Regions from separate parts of the Homo sapiens genome. Here region 1 is linked to region 2. The links are contacts of gene promoters, found by promoter capture Hi-C in human tissues and cell types (Jung and others, 2019). All regions are on one chromosome and are shown on one strand. The core of a region is centred on a gene start or on the middle of the fragment in contact, and the rest is flanking DNA. Distances in the headings are between cores, read along the strand shown.

What was found. Contacts are between HindIII fragments. The study calls those that stand out against the background at their distance.
Region 1: a contact is called between the fragment with the promoter of EXTL1 here and the fragment with the promoter of ZNF683 in region 2, in 1 of the 25 tissues and cell types used here (mesenchymal stem cells).

The regions. Positions count from the first base shown.
Region 1 is chr1:26,019,339-26,026,406 of GRCh38, forward strand. It overlaps EXTL1 (exostosin like glycosyltransferase 1), which reads left to right and starts at 2,437. Exons shown (of 11, transcript NM_004455.3): 1 at 2,437-4,087. The coding sequence starts at 3,309. The HindIII fragment of the contact is 12,554 bases long and covers 1-3,448 here.
Region 2 is chr1:26,371,182-26,378,567 of GRCh38, forward strand. ZNF683 (zinc finger protein 683) reads right to left here and starts at 1,569. Exons shown (of 6, transcript NM_001114759.3): 1 at 1,488-1,569. RefSeq lists a cis regulatory region at 6,857-7,386 and an enhancer at 7,073-7,282. The HindIII fragment of the contact is 13,714 bases long and covers 1-5,681 here.

The DNA of each region.
Region 1 (7,068 bases), core at 1,187-3,686, 350 kb before region 2:
AGATGGAGTTTCGCTCTGTCCCCCAGGCTGGAGTGCAGTGGCACGATCTCGGCTCACTGCAAGCTCTGCCTCCCGGGTTCAGGCCATTCTCCTGCCTCAGCCTCCCGAGTAGCTGGGACTACAGGCGCCTGCAACCACGCCCGGCTAATTTTTTGTATTTTTAGTAGAGACGGGGTTTCACCGTGTTAGCCAGGACGGTCTCAATCTCCTGACCTTGTAATCCGCCTGCCTCAGCCTCCCAAATGCCAGCTTTTTTATGAGGCCTCCCGTATTTCTGTCTAACATTGCAACCCATCCCATCTCCCCAGCAGTTATTGTCAAATAGTATGAGATATTTATTCATTTTGTTTCTTGCCTATTTCCCCTCCCTGGAGGGTAAGTTCCAGGAGGGCAAGATTTTTTCTGCTTTGCTCACTGCCCTTAAGACCTGCCTGGCCCCACAATAGGGGTTCAGTAAATAGCTGTTGAATGAATGAGAGACTTGTGGGGTGACAGACCAGTCAAAAAGCTGTCCCTGCCTCCAGTCCTGCCATTTCCTGTCTGATCCCACACAGACAGCCACAGCGATTTTTCTAAAAACCACATTGCTGTCTTTCAGGTCTTAGGGTAGGTATCACTTCCTCGGAAGCCTTCTCTGGCCCCCTGGGCTAGGCAGCCCCTCTGTGTACTCTCAGGGTCCCCTCCCCTCATTCTGTAATTGCCTGCAATTGCCTAGTTCTATAATTGTCTTCTCCAGGACAGCGAGCTCTGGAGGGTGGGGACGCGTCTGTCTCCCTCCCTGTTGGGAGCTGGAATGGTGCAGCGGATATAGGAGCACACTACCTGGGTCCAAGTCCTGGCTAAGCCGTGAGAATTCAGGCAAATTACTTAAGCTCCCTCGGCCTCAGTTTTCCCAACTGTAAAATGTGGATCATCACAGTTTCTCCCTCCTAGGGTTGGGGAAAGGATGAAACAAGCTGATACAAAAGAGGGATGCTTGGCACGCTGTAAGTGCAATACGAGTGTCAGCTATGATTACTCTTACTCAGGGTTGTGTTCCTGGCCTAGCTCAGAACCTGGCCCATATTCAACACTCATAAGTGTTTGTTAGATGAATGGATGACTGTGTATGGGGATAGAGGGATGAAGGAATGACATGAGGACCTAGACGGGGGCTCTAACCCAGCCTGCGGAGCATTGGAGAAGCTTCTTGTGGGGAGGGAGCTTTCAGCTGACTCCTGCAGGATGAGGAGTTGGCTGGGCACAGTGAAAGGGGGGGCGTGCGAAGCAGCCAGTGGCCTTTGTGGATGCCTCTCAGTGTGGGAGGACTGAGTTATGCAGGAACTGCAGTTCATCACCGAGTGGCTGAGCCATTAGTGCCAAGAGGCAAGTGTCCCCTTTGTGGGCCATTTTTAGGACTCTCACACTGGCTGCTCACTGAGGGCAAAACATCCCACGGTGGCTCCCTGGTCTGATCAGCAGCCCTCCAAGATCAAGGGGAGGCACGCAGGGGAAAGGAGGCCACCACTTGTTGAGGGACCTCAGGGGACAGGCCTGCGTCAACCTGGCAACCCATTCCTGGCTGACATTATGCCCATCCCAGAGATAAGGGGACAGAGGCCCAACACCCCCGAGGCAGTCAGGGGAAGAGGCAGAACCCACTCAAGTCTGTCCACTCCCTGTGCCTTCCCTCATCAGCCCAGAACTCCTCATGGCCAGAGTGTGTCTCCCCCGTCACCCCAGAGATTCCTCAGTGGCTGACATCACCCACTCCTGACTCCCCTCACAGGGCACTGACCGGGGAAATCCCTCCATGGGGCCTGGACTATGGAAGAGTCAAGTGCAGGAAGAACTTTCCATAAGGACTGGAGCAAAAGGCTGGGAATTGGAGGAGATTGGGGGTGGGGCTGCTGAAGGAGGAGAGACCAATCCTGGGGACAGTTGGGGGCACCTTACCCAATTCCTCCACCCCCGCCCCTTAACTCCTCACTTGTCTCACCTGTTGACCTTCTCATGTGCCGATTCAGAGATTCCTCACACTCAGGCTCTGACCTCCACTGACTCTGATGGCCCACAGCAGGTGCAGGGTCTAGTTTTTCTCCAGCCACAGGGCCCACAGCTGGGGTGACCAACGACCAGGAGCTCAGGATTGAAATCCCCACCCTGCCACTTCTTAGCTGGGTCACCTTAGGAAGAGTTCATCCCCTCTCTGAGCTTTCCTCATCTGTAAGAAATGACAGGTAAATCTCTGCCTTGGAGGGTGGCTGGAGGACTGAGAGACAGAGGCTGTGATAACTCATGGCCAGCTGTGAGTTGCAGTACTTGCTGGTTGGATTAGCAATTGAGGAAACTGGTTTGGAAGGGGTTAAATGGAGACCCTGCCTCCCAGCCAGGAGCGAATCAGGGCTGGGAGGGGAGGAGCCAGGCTGCTGCTAAGGAAAGAGATCAGGATGGGCCAGTTGCCGACTGGAGAGGGATGGGAGGAGATACCATAGGGTTTGGGGGGCTTGGCACAGCGGCCCTGGCCTCTGCACTGTGATAGCTCCAAGCCAGATGGTGCAAGGCAGCTGCTGGGCTGCGGGGAAGAGGGGCTGCACTTCCTGAGCTGGTGCAGCGGCAGAGTGGATAAGGATCAGGACCCCGAGCCCTCCTGGCCCTCCAAGGCAGGGGGACACCGGCTGCACCCAGGCTGTGACCTCAGCTGACGCCGATGATCCACATGGGATGCAGGGTCTAATTTTAGCTCCAGCCACAGGGGCCACAGCCCAGAAGCGTCTGCCAGCGGGCACAGGGGCAGCCAGGGCTGCTCAGGCAAGGGGAGGAGTGGGAAGACCAGCCCAGCTCCCTCCAGCCTGTCCCTGGCCAAGCCGCCTCCTGTGGGAGCTCTGACTGGTCCCCATGGCCTGGCAGACAGCCCTCCTCTCAGTTGAGGGCAAGGTCAAGGGGTGCAGCCAGGAGGGCAGGGGGACACGGCCCTGCATTCTGGACAGGGGTTGCGTCAGCCAGAGCAGTGCCCAGGGGCAGGGGTCCCTGCTGGGAGGGAAAAGGCTGGCTTGGTTGTCCAAAGGCCGAGAAGGCAGAGTCCTGAGAGCAGGGGGGCCAGGCCAGCAAGCTGGGTCCCACCTGGCCTCCTCCTGCCTGGCTGGTGACTCACTATCTGACCTTAGACAGGCGGCCTGGTCTCGATGGGCCTCAGTCTTCCCATCTGTACAATGACAGCACAGGACTAGCAGGTCGGTCCCAGCTCTGGTCTCCCGCCCCAGGCCCTGCTCTTCCTGCTTGCTGGCAGAGGCCTCCCAGCTTCCCTAGCCCTGACTGTGGGTGGCCACATGCAGTCGTGGAGGAGAAGAAAGTCCCTGTGGCTGGCACTGTCAGCCTCCTGGCTCCTGCTTGTCCTGCTGGGAGGCTTCTCCCTTCTCCGCCTGGCATTGCCTCCCAGACCTCGGCCCGGGGCTTCCCAAGGCTGGCCCCGCTGGCTGGATGCAGAGCTCCTGCAGAGCTTCTCCCAGCCTGGAGAGCTCCCAGAAGATGCCGTTTCACCTCCTCAAGCCCCTCATGGTGGCAGCTGCAACTGGGAATCTTGCTTTGATACCTCAAAGTGCAGGGGCGATGGCCTTAAGGTATTCGTGTACCCAGCGGTTGGAACCATCTCTGAGACTCATCGCAGGATCCTGGCTTCCATTGAGGGCTCTCGCTTCTACACATTCAGCCCTGCTGGGGCCTGCCTCCTCCTCCTCCTCAGCCTGGACGCCCAGACTGGAGAGTGCAGCTCAATGCCTCTGCAATGGAACAGGGGCAGGAACCATCTGGTCCTCCGTCTCCACCCGGCTCCCTGCCCCAGGACCTTCCAGCTGGGACAGGCTATGGTGGCTGAGGCCAGCCCCACGGTGGACTCCTTCCGGCCCGGCTTTGATGTGGCCCTCCCTTTTCTCCCTGAAGCCCACCCGTTGCGAGGTGGGGCTCCTGGCCAGCTGCGGCAACACAGCCCCCAGCCCGGGGTAGCCCTGCTAGCCCTGGAAGAGGAGAGGGGTGGGTGGCGCACAGCAGACACTGGCTCCTCTGCCTGCCCCTGGGATGGGCGCTGTGAGCAAGACCCTGGACCTGGGCAGTAAGTGAACCTTTTGCCTTGGGGGCTGGATGGGAGGGGGCTGGAATAGACGCAAGCCCAAAAACGAGGGTAGAAGGCAGGACTGAGATGGGAGAACCAGGTAGTCCTGGTAGACTTAGGCCTCAGCTGCAGCAGCAGGAGGGAGCCAGGTTAGATGGCAGAGAGCACTTCCATTAAGATGGGGACTTGAAGCAAGGGTTGTCTAAGGTAGGTTTTGGAATTCTCCCCTGGGGATCTTTCAAAACATAAAACACGACTCATTCCAAACCTCCTACCCTAATATTTTTTTTCCCCACATACAGTTGTATAGTGCTTACTCTGTGCTAAGCACTTATATAAATAATGATTATAATAAAATATGCTAGTTGTTAGCATTTAAGTGTTTGTGTACCAGGCACGAAAGCTCAGACAGGTTAAGTAATTTTTCTCAGGCCACCCAGCCGGAAAGAGCCAGTATTTTGATCCAGAATTGCCTATCTCCAAAGCCTTCAGTATGAGAATTCTGAGTTTTAAGTAAAAGTTTATGATCAACCTCATCAAATGCCTCAGAAGGGCCTCACAGTCACAGCTGGAAGCTGCTCCCGTGTCTAATTTTGGGGATTAACCTCTCAAAGAAACAGCCTTTGGTTATAGCAAATATGACGCAGGTCAGATCTAAAGAATTTCCTGCCAGTGAGAGGCCCTTGACATATATAAGGGACTGGGGGCCTGTGGGATGTGGTGAGCTTGTACAGAAACTCTTTCCGCCTGGGCTAGTTGGGGGTGATGCGCCTCAGGTGATAGTTATCCCCTAAGCACTCTAACCCTCTGTGTCCCCAGCAGGCCAGCAGCCTCTAAAGGCTAGCTGGGCAGGCAAGAATGGGAGTCCCTCTGAGGTTGTCCAGGGCCCCGGTGGCAGAGGGTTCCTTCTGTATCCCACCATCTCCCAGGGCCTACCTGAGTCGGGAACTGTCACTCTGGTATCCTCCTTTTGCTCCTCCCTCAGGTCTCTCTCCCTATTCTCTGCTCCAACAACATCAACTATTCTGAGCTCCACTCCCTCCCAGGAATTCTTGCCTCTGCTTGGGGCTCCCGGGACTTCTCTCGGCCAAAGGGCTCTCGTGGGAATGGGATCCTTCCACTTCCTGAAGGTACATGGAGGCCTCCAGGGAGCCCTCACAGCCAGGAGTAAGAATGGACTTGTCCCGGTCAGCCCCAGGGTCCTTTTGCTGGGACCTATCCCTAGTGGTCTCCAAGGTGGGAGCCTGAAAAGTCAGGGATCTCCCCCAAGCCCCTGCAGCTCAGCGCTCAGGCAGAAGCTCACTTTGAGCGACAAGGCTCTCCCTTTGCCATGCCCTCCCTCACTTTTCTGATGAGGCACTCAGGTACTCTTGCTTGCAGGAAGTTCTTTTTTCAGCTGACTTTAGTTACCGCTAAGCACAGTTCATTATTGATGAACCTGAAAGTGATTTCAGTCTGAACTTCTTTGAGAAACTGGAAGTTAGGGAGCTGCACACAGCAGGTAGGTGCTCATTAAATGTTTACTAATGGATCTGAAATTGGCCAGAGCCGGCCACGGTTTTCTAATTAGCGTGGGTCACCCTCTGAGTAGCATTTTTGATAAGTTTTATTTCCCAGGGGCGAAGCTTGGCAGCCTTGGACTCTGACCTTCAAGTTTTGTCTTTGGCCTCCGCCTCCCTGAAGGTGACAGGACTTGTCATCTCTGGAGTGGTTTGAGCCTCAGTTTCTCCGAAGTGCCGGGCAGCTGCCTGGGCCAGACAGCCTAGGGACAGAGTGAGAGAGATAGCCTGAATAAACAAGTCCTGGCCAGAGAAAGAGGCCATTCACAGTCCCTGCCACCTCCCCACATTCACTCAGCCGGGCGAGAGTGGGGAGAGGAGGAGGCTACATTTGAGGAGTGCCTGGCTTGGGCCAGGTGCTGTGCCAGGCACTTTACTTAAGTCACTGCTGATCCTGTCATGCACCCTTCAAGGGAGGTATTATTATCTCCATTTCAGGGTATGGAAAACTGAGGCCCAGAGAGGTGGAATAGCCCAGGGTGACAAGGTTCCCTCTTCTCCATGAGCCCCTCACTTTTCTAATCAGGCGCTTGGAAGCAGTGGAGTTGGGATTCAACCCTGTACTTCTGGCTCCAAAGCCCATGTTTTTCCACCTTGGTTGAACGGTCTCTTGTTGCTTTGGAATAAATCTCCACCCATTCAAATTGTTATTTATTCATTTTTATGAATAGGTAATTCATTCACATGGTACAGAATTCCAAAGGCACAAAAGGGCATAGAGTGAAAAGCCTCCCTTCTATCCCTGTCTCTCGGCCACCCGGTTTTCCTGCCTGGAGCCAAACACTGCTTCCAGTTTCTTACGTGTCTTTTCTGAGAAACTCTGCGTGTGTACAAGCAATATGTATATTCTCCCCCATTTTTTAACATAAATTTGAGGCATGCTTCAAAGTCCCCCAGGCTGTATCCATTGGGAACAAGGGGCACAGTCAGTACCTAGGGCCCATGATACTTTTATAGGCTCATGAAAATATTTTCATTTTTTGAAAATCAGGGCTGGGCATAGTGGCTTACACCTGTGATCCCAGCACTTTGGGAGGCTGAGGCGGGTGGATCGCCTGAGCTTAGGCAACATGGTGAGACCCTGTCTCTACAAGAATTACAAACATTAGCTGGGTGTGGTGGTGCAAGCCTGTAGTCCCAGCTACTTGGGAGGCTGAAGTGAGAGGATCGCTTGAGCCCAGGGTGTCAAGGCTAGAGTGAGCTGGGATCATGCCACTGCACTCCAGCCTGGGCAGCAGAGTGAGAGAGACTCTGTTTCAAAAAAAAAAAAAAAAGGCAGAATTAAAAATGAACTTTCAGGTAGAAGAAAAAAATTTTTTTTTTTTTTGAGACAAAGTCTTTCTCTGTCACCCAGGCTGGAGTGCAATGGCACAATCTTGGCTCACTGCGACCTCCACTTCCTGGGTTCAAGCGATTCCCCTG
Region 2 (7,386 bases), core at 319-2,818:
AGAGAAGGCAGCTGATCTCACAGAGATACAGCAAACACGTTTTCCTCCTCCAAGTCCCATCTCAGATCTCCTGACCCTGGAAAGTTCTATCCTCTAATCTAGAGGCCCCAAGAGGCAAAAGATAATTCAAGCACATGGCCAGGTGAAGTGGCTCACATCTGTAATCCCAGCACTTCAGGAGACCAAGGCAGACCCATCTCTTGAGCCCAGGAGTTTGAGATCAGCCTGGGCAACAAAGCAAGACCTCATCTCTACAAAAAATACAAAACTTAGCTGGGCATGGTGACTTGCACCTCTGGTCCCAGCTACTCAGGAGGCTGAGGCAGGAGGATCACTTGAGCCCAGGAATATAAGGCTGCAGTGAACTAGGATATTGCCACTGCACTCTAGCCTGGGTGACAGAGAAAGACCCTGTCTCTTTAAAAAAAAAAAAAATAGACATAGCAAAATGGGTGTAAGGCATGACTAGGCCAGGTGTGGTGGCTCACATCTGTAATCCCAGCACTTTGGGAGGCTGAGGTGGGCCAACTGCTTGAGCCCAGGAGTTCAAGACCAGCATGAGCAACATGGTGAAACACCATCTCTACAAAAAATACAAAAATTAGCCAGGCATGGTAGCGCATGCCTGTTGTTCCAGCTACTCAGGAGGCTGAGGTGGGAGGATCACTTGAGCCAGGGAGGTCGAGACTGCAGTGAGCTGAGATCATGCCACTGCACTCCAGCCTGGGTGACAGAGCGAGACCCTGTCTTAAAAAAAGTTAATAAATAAGGAAAAGACATGTCTAGATACAAAAAGGGAGACCTCATAGGCCAGAAAGTGGCTTTTTAGCCTGAGCAATGTCATTATTCTTGTGAGCATGAGAAGAGGCATCACCCCTGCGGCCTTACACAAATTCTGGTGTGCGTGAGTCTGGCCCAGGGTGCAAAAGCCCCAACCAGCCATCAATCTGCACCCCAGCCACGCCACCCTGGTGTCCCAGAATATACAGGGACATCTCAGGCTGTGCACCATGGGCTGGGGCATGTTCCTGGGGTTTCTCTGCCAGCTCAGCCCCTAGGGCTGTGACTCATCCTCCACATAACTGATCCCAACATGTTTGTGAGCATCTCAAGGACAGGGTCCTCTGTCTACTCATTTTGGTTTTCCATGTAGACATCTGTCAGGTTTTTTTGGACGCCCAGCCTCTGAAACTTTTCCCCTACATGAGTCTTGAGGGAGGCAAAAGGTACCTCCCATTATAAAAGCCGAAATGGCCAAATACTTAATTCCAACCTCCCTCACCAGCACTTCATGCAGGCATACATGGACTAGGTCGATCAGATGTCCCCACCCAGAAGGGGTGACCCGCACACCTTTGGCTTCCATCTGCCAGCTCTGCCCTCTCCTGGCATCACACTCTGCTCCCAACTCTCAGAACACCTTGCACAACTTCTCTGTTAGAAAAAAATAAAAACTACTTCCCCTCTATCCGCACTTCCCAACCTACTCTGGTGATCATGGGCTTTCCTTGGCTTGGGTCTCTGGTCTGGGTCAAGGCATCTGCTCAGGTTCCTCAGTTAGAAGACCATGGTCCTCCCTTTGTGCTACCTCCCCAGGGCATGTGGGACAAAGTGACATCACATTTAGGCCTGTGACATCACAGGGCATGGAGGCTGACAAGACAGATGATCTGGGAGACGAGAGCAAGGAAGGGCTTGGCAGGCAGAGGCTGCTCCATGTGGGAACCTGAGGGAGTCTGTCTTAGCCCACCTCCTGGGACATTTCCTTGCCAAGCCGAGTCTTGTGAGCATGAGAAGAGGCATAACCCCTGTGGCCTCACACAAATTCTGGTGTGCGTGAGTCTGGCCCAGGGTACAAAAGCCCCAAGCAGCCATTAATCTCCACTGCAGCCCAGTAGACTAGCAGATCAGAAGCTAGTGCCACTGGCTGAGCGCAGTGGCTCACGCCTGTAATCCCAGGACTTTGGGAGGCCGAGGCGGGCAGATCACTTGAGGTCAGGAGTTCAAGACCAGCCTGGCCAACATGGTGGGACCCCATCTCTACAAAAATACAAAAATTAGCCAAGTGTGGTGGCACGTGCCTGTATTTCCAGCTACTTGGGAGACTGAGGCAGGAGAATTGCTTGAACCCGGGAGGCGGAGGTTGCAGTGAGCTGAGATGGCTCTGCTACACTCCAGGCTGGGCAACAGAGTGAGGCTCCATCTCAAAATAAAATAAAATACAATAAAAAAAGCCACTGGTCCTGAGGTGGCAGGTCTGTGGAAACTCCTCTCTACAACAAAGGCTGTGGTACCACATCCGGCTTCCAGGGCAGTGAAGGAAAGAAGGGGGTTCAGGGGAGGCTGCAGAATCTGTGCAGGGCTGGTCCTGGGGTGTGATATTTGGCCATGGTCCTGTCTACTTCCAGCCTCCCTTGATCCATCCTATTCTCCAAGCCTTGCTCTCCAGCCTTCTCAGACCTCCTGCGAGCTTTTCTAACATCTTTTAAACAAATTCCTTCTGCTTAACTCCTCCTGAAATGGTTTTTGTAGCTTACAACTGATAATTCTGCATTATACATGCCCAGAATAGAAGATAAAGTAACAGGGTTCCAGCTGGAATTGTCCAAGGAACAGAGTAAATAGCCACCTTTACAAACAGCTTTCTTGCTGTGTCTGGCACTGTGCTAGGGGCTTCATAAACTTTATCTCATTTAGTCTTCACAATAAGCCTGTGTGGTGGATTTTATTATTAGCAGCTCATCCAGAGTCACACAACAAGTAGCCAAGAGCTCTTTAGTGGTAAACCTCAGACTCTGCCATCTCTTGGCCATGTCAGCTTCCCCCACTACGACAGCCACCCCCTCATTTCTTTCTTTCTTGCTCTCTCTTCCCACATGCTGTTCCCAGTCCTTCCCCCAACTCCTCAGTGGCCCCCTCAGTATCCTTCAGCGTAATGGAGGGGCTTAGTTCACCAAAACTCTACTCCCTAAAAGGAAGAGCCCTCTCAGACCCCCAGGCCACAAGCCCGCCTCCCCTGCTGTCTTGCTGGGAATCACAGGGAAGTGAGGGGCACCGAGTGAAGTTTCCTCCCCTCCAAGGCACTTCCCCACACACCTTTGGCTTCCATCTGCCAGCTGTGCTCCCTCCTGGCATCACACTCTGCTCCCAGCTCTCAGAACACTTTGCACAACCTCTCTGTTAGAAAAAAATAAAAAAGGAAATGGCCTTGGAGATTTCCAGGTCTCCAATCCTGAAAGCTCCCTGGCTTGGCTAGGAAATGCCCCAGGAGGTGGGCTGAGGACAGACTCCCTCAGGTTCCCACGTGGAGAAGCCTCTGCCTGCCAAGCCCTTCCTTGCTGTCATCTCCCAGATCATCTGTCTTGTGTCATCCATGCCCTGTGATGTCACAGGCCTAAATGTGATGTCACTTTGTCCCACATGCCCTGGGGAGGTAGCACAGAGGGAGGACCATGGTCTTCTAACTGAGGAACCTGAGCAGATGCCTTGACCCAGACCAGAGACCCAAGCCAAGGAAAGCCCATGATCACCAGAGTGGGTTTGGGAAGTGCGGACAGAGGGGGAGTAGGGAGCTGACTCCAGGTGCAAGGGGCACATTCGGGAGGCCTCTGAAGAGGAGGTGCCTCCACATTAGGGGACAAGAGCTGGAGGGGCTGGGTCCTTGGGCTCCCGGTGCTCACTGCACACTTTCTTCTTCCTTTCGTTAGTTGCAAAATAATACATACTAGTGGTAAACATTTCAAACAACAGAAAATGTAAAAACGAAAAATGGAAGCTCCTCCTCCTTCGCAATTTCCCAGTGGTCAATGTGAATTGTTTAGTGTTTACCCTTCCAGACATTTTTCTATGAACCAACAAACAGGTAAATTGATTTTTTTAATTGCTTTTTTTTTTCCTAAGGAATGAAGTGACTTATTGAAAATGAAAGTACACTCTGCAGTGTGGGAGCAGGCCTGAGCATAGGGGCTCAAAGGCCCCATTACAGAGTTTTTGAGAGTTTAAATACCTTCTGCTTGTGGTACGCCCTATGTAAATGAAGAGAATGAAGTAAAGTTACAATGTCATGTACTCAGGGAGAAGCTATTTCCTGTCAGAGCTGAAGTGTGAATTGGCCTTATGTTTCCTGCCTCCAGCCCCTATTTTCCTGCCTCATCTCCCCGCTAAGAGATGTGATTGTGGTCCCCGTAAATCTTCACGGGAGGCAGAGGGACCGATGGTCTTTTTCCTGGGACTGCTTCATGCTGGCATGGGGCGTAGTCCCTACTTATTGGGGATCATGGAACCCTCACCTTGTTCTGTCTAGTGGAGGCAGGGTAGCTTCTTGATGGCCAGGGGTGGTGTCTTCACCTGGACTGGCTGGAGCCTTTGTTGCATGATCATCTGAAGCTTGATGGCCTCCTTTTGCTGGTATGCCAGGTTTCTGGGCTCTCTTTCCCTGAGCGGCCCTTCCTCCGGGCTGGCTGGCCAAAATATGTCACTGGTGGGGGGTGTCCAGGTTCTTGGCATCTTGAACAAAGAATTGGACAAAAAGCAGAAACAAAGCAACGAAGAAATGAAGGGATTTATTGAAAATAAAGTACACTCCACAGTGTTGGAGTGGGCCTGAGCATAGGGGCTGAAAGGCTAAATTGTGTTTTATACAAACATGGGAATATATTGATGCACATTGCTCTTCCGGGTTTTCTTTTCTTTTCTTTTCTTTTTTTTTTTTTTTGAGACAGAATCTGACTCTGCCTCCCAGGTTGGAGTACAGTGGTGTGATCTTGGCTCACTAGCAACCTCTGCCTCCTGGGTTCAAGCAATTCTCCTGTTCAAGCTGGGACTACAGGCATGCGCCACCAAGCCCAGTTAATTTTTTTGTATTTTTAGTAGAGACGGGGTTTCACCACATTGGCCAGGCTGGTCTCAAACTCCTGACCTCAAGTGATCCACCCACCTTGGCCTCCCAAAGTGCTGGATTACACTTTGGGAGCCACCATGCCCAGTCTCTTCTGGGTTTTCTAATAATCCATTGTGGGCATCATTTCATGCCCTGAACATACCTATCTGCCTCCTGCTTTTTCCTGACTATATAATGTTCCATTGCAGGGTTGTGCTTAATATGTAGCCTTCCCCTGTTGGTGGACATACGGGTGGGATCCAATTTTCCCCTTTCTACACAAGGCTGGAAAAGACCTCCAGACAGAGTCAGTATGCGGAATGGTTAAGAATACGAGCTCTGCTGGATTTAATCCCAACTGGGTAAACTTATGGCAAATCACTTAACCTCTCTGTGCATCTTTCCTCATCTGTCAAATGGAGATAATAATAGCACTTGCCTCATAGAATTATTTCCAGGTTTCCTCAAGATAATCCATGTAAAGCCCTTAGGATGGTGCCTGGCCCAAAGCAAGCACTTGACCAATGTGGATGACTATATTGTACATTACCCTTTACCTAGTTAGGCAAGCATCTGCAAGTCAGCTTCTTAAAAGTGTTAAAATTTTGATGGTTATTCCTGACCCATTTTGGAAGATCGAAATTTGGGCAGCACAATTGGAGAGATTAACTACATTTAGTTTTCTTGCTTTATTTATTGACCCTTCCCTGGTTGGGGATCATTGCTCTCATTCAATGCAGTCTTCTCCTACCCCATCCACACACCACAATAATAATAGCTCTTGGCATGGGAGCCCTCATTATATGCCAGGAACCATGCAAAGCCATTCCACACGCTTTGTCTCACTGGATCAGCAGAGTGACTCTGGGAGATGAATGCCATTATTCCCATTTTAGAGGCAAGAAAACTGACACTCAGATAAGGAAAATGACTCACTTAAGATCAGATGACCTGGCTGGGCGTGGCTCATGCCTGTAATCCCAGCACTTTGGGAGGCCGAGGCGGGTGGATCACCTGAGGTCAGGAGTTCAAGACCAGCCTGGCCAACATGGTGAAACTTTGTCTCTACTAAAAATACGAAAATTAGCCGGGCATGGTGGTGGGTGCCTGTAATCCCAGCTACTTGAGAGGTTGAGGCAGGAGAATCGCTTGAACCTAGGAGGCGGAGGTTGCAGTGAGCTGAGATCGTGCCATTGCACTCCAGCCTGGGAGACAAGAGCAAAACTCAGTCTCAAAAAAAAAAAACCAAAAAACACCACATGACCCCAAAGTGGAAAGCATAGAAACAGAGAGTAGAAAGGTCTTTACCAGGGGCAGGGGCCTGGGGTGTAAGGGAAATGGGAGATGAAGGTCAAAGGGTACAAAGTTGCAGTTACTTAGAATGAATAAGTCTAGAGCTGTAACATACAGCATGAGGATTATAGTTAGTAATATTATATAGTAGACATTTGCTAAAAGTAATTTTAGGTACTTTTACCGCACACACACACAAAAGGTAACTGTGAGGTGATGGATGTGTTAAATTGCTTGACTGTAGTAATCACTTTACTGAGCATATGTGTATCAAAACATCATGTTGTAGATCTTAAATATATACAATTTTAAAAGAAACACATGACCCAAGTTGAGGTTGTAAGTCCCAGAGGTGAGGGAGAGCTTAGGGAAGACTTTCCAGGCATTTGAAGAAGTAAAAAGTGCCACAAATATGTTTGGTAGAAGGGGCTCCCAGAAAAATTAAGACAAACAGAGGCCATCTTGAAACGAGCTGCAGAATTAGCATCTGGTACCCTGCAAGAACGTCATTCATTCACATATTTATTTGCCTTTTCTTTCTTCCTTCCTTTCTTTCTTTCTTTCTTTCTTTCTTTCTTTCTTTCTTTCTTTCTTTCTTTCTTTCTTTCTTGTTGTATTTTGGTAGAGACAGGGTCTGGCTGTGCTGACCAGGCTAGTCTCAAACTCCTGCCCTCAAACAGCCTCCCAAAGTAATTCACATATTTATTAATTACCAGCTATGTGTCAGGCATTGGACTATTTTCTGGGAATACAGCCCATAGAAATATGACTCAGACCTTGGAATTACATTCCGGCTATCAAGAAGCTTGCTGGATGTTGTGAAATGGAAAGTAATGTACATCTGAGCTTATTATTAGGAGGGTAGGGGCTGGAGGAGCAAAGTAGAACTGGGGGTGGGGTTGGCTGACTCATGCACCAAGAAAGGGAGACAACGGAACCACAGCCAGAAGCCCCACTTCCTCCCTGAAAACCTTAAAAACTTCTTCAACCCATATCCATTGCCACCTCCAACCTTGAGGCCAGCCAGCTGACTTCCCAGTCAGCTCAGCACATGGGTCCAGGACCTCTGTCACATGGACACTTTTGAGAGGCACCAGGTAAGGACCCCAGGTCAGGAAGGGATCTGGGACGTCACTGGCTTAGAGGTTAAGCAGCTGTAGGGTGTGCCTCCACAGGCAGAGCTGAGGGTGGGGCTGACAGTGCTCTTGCCTGGC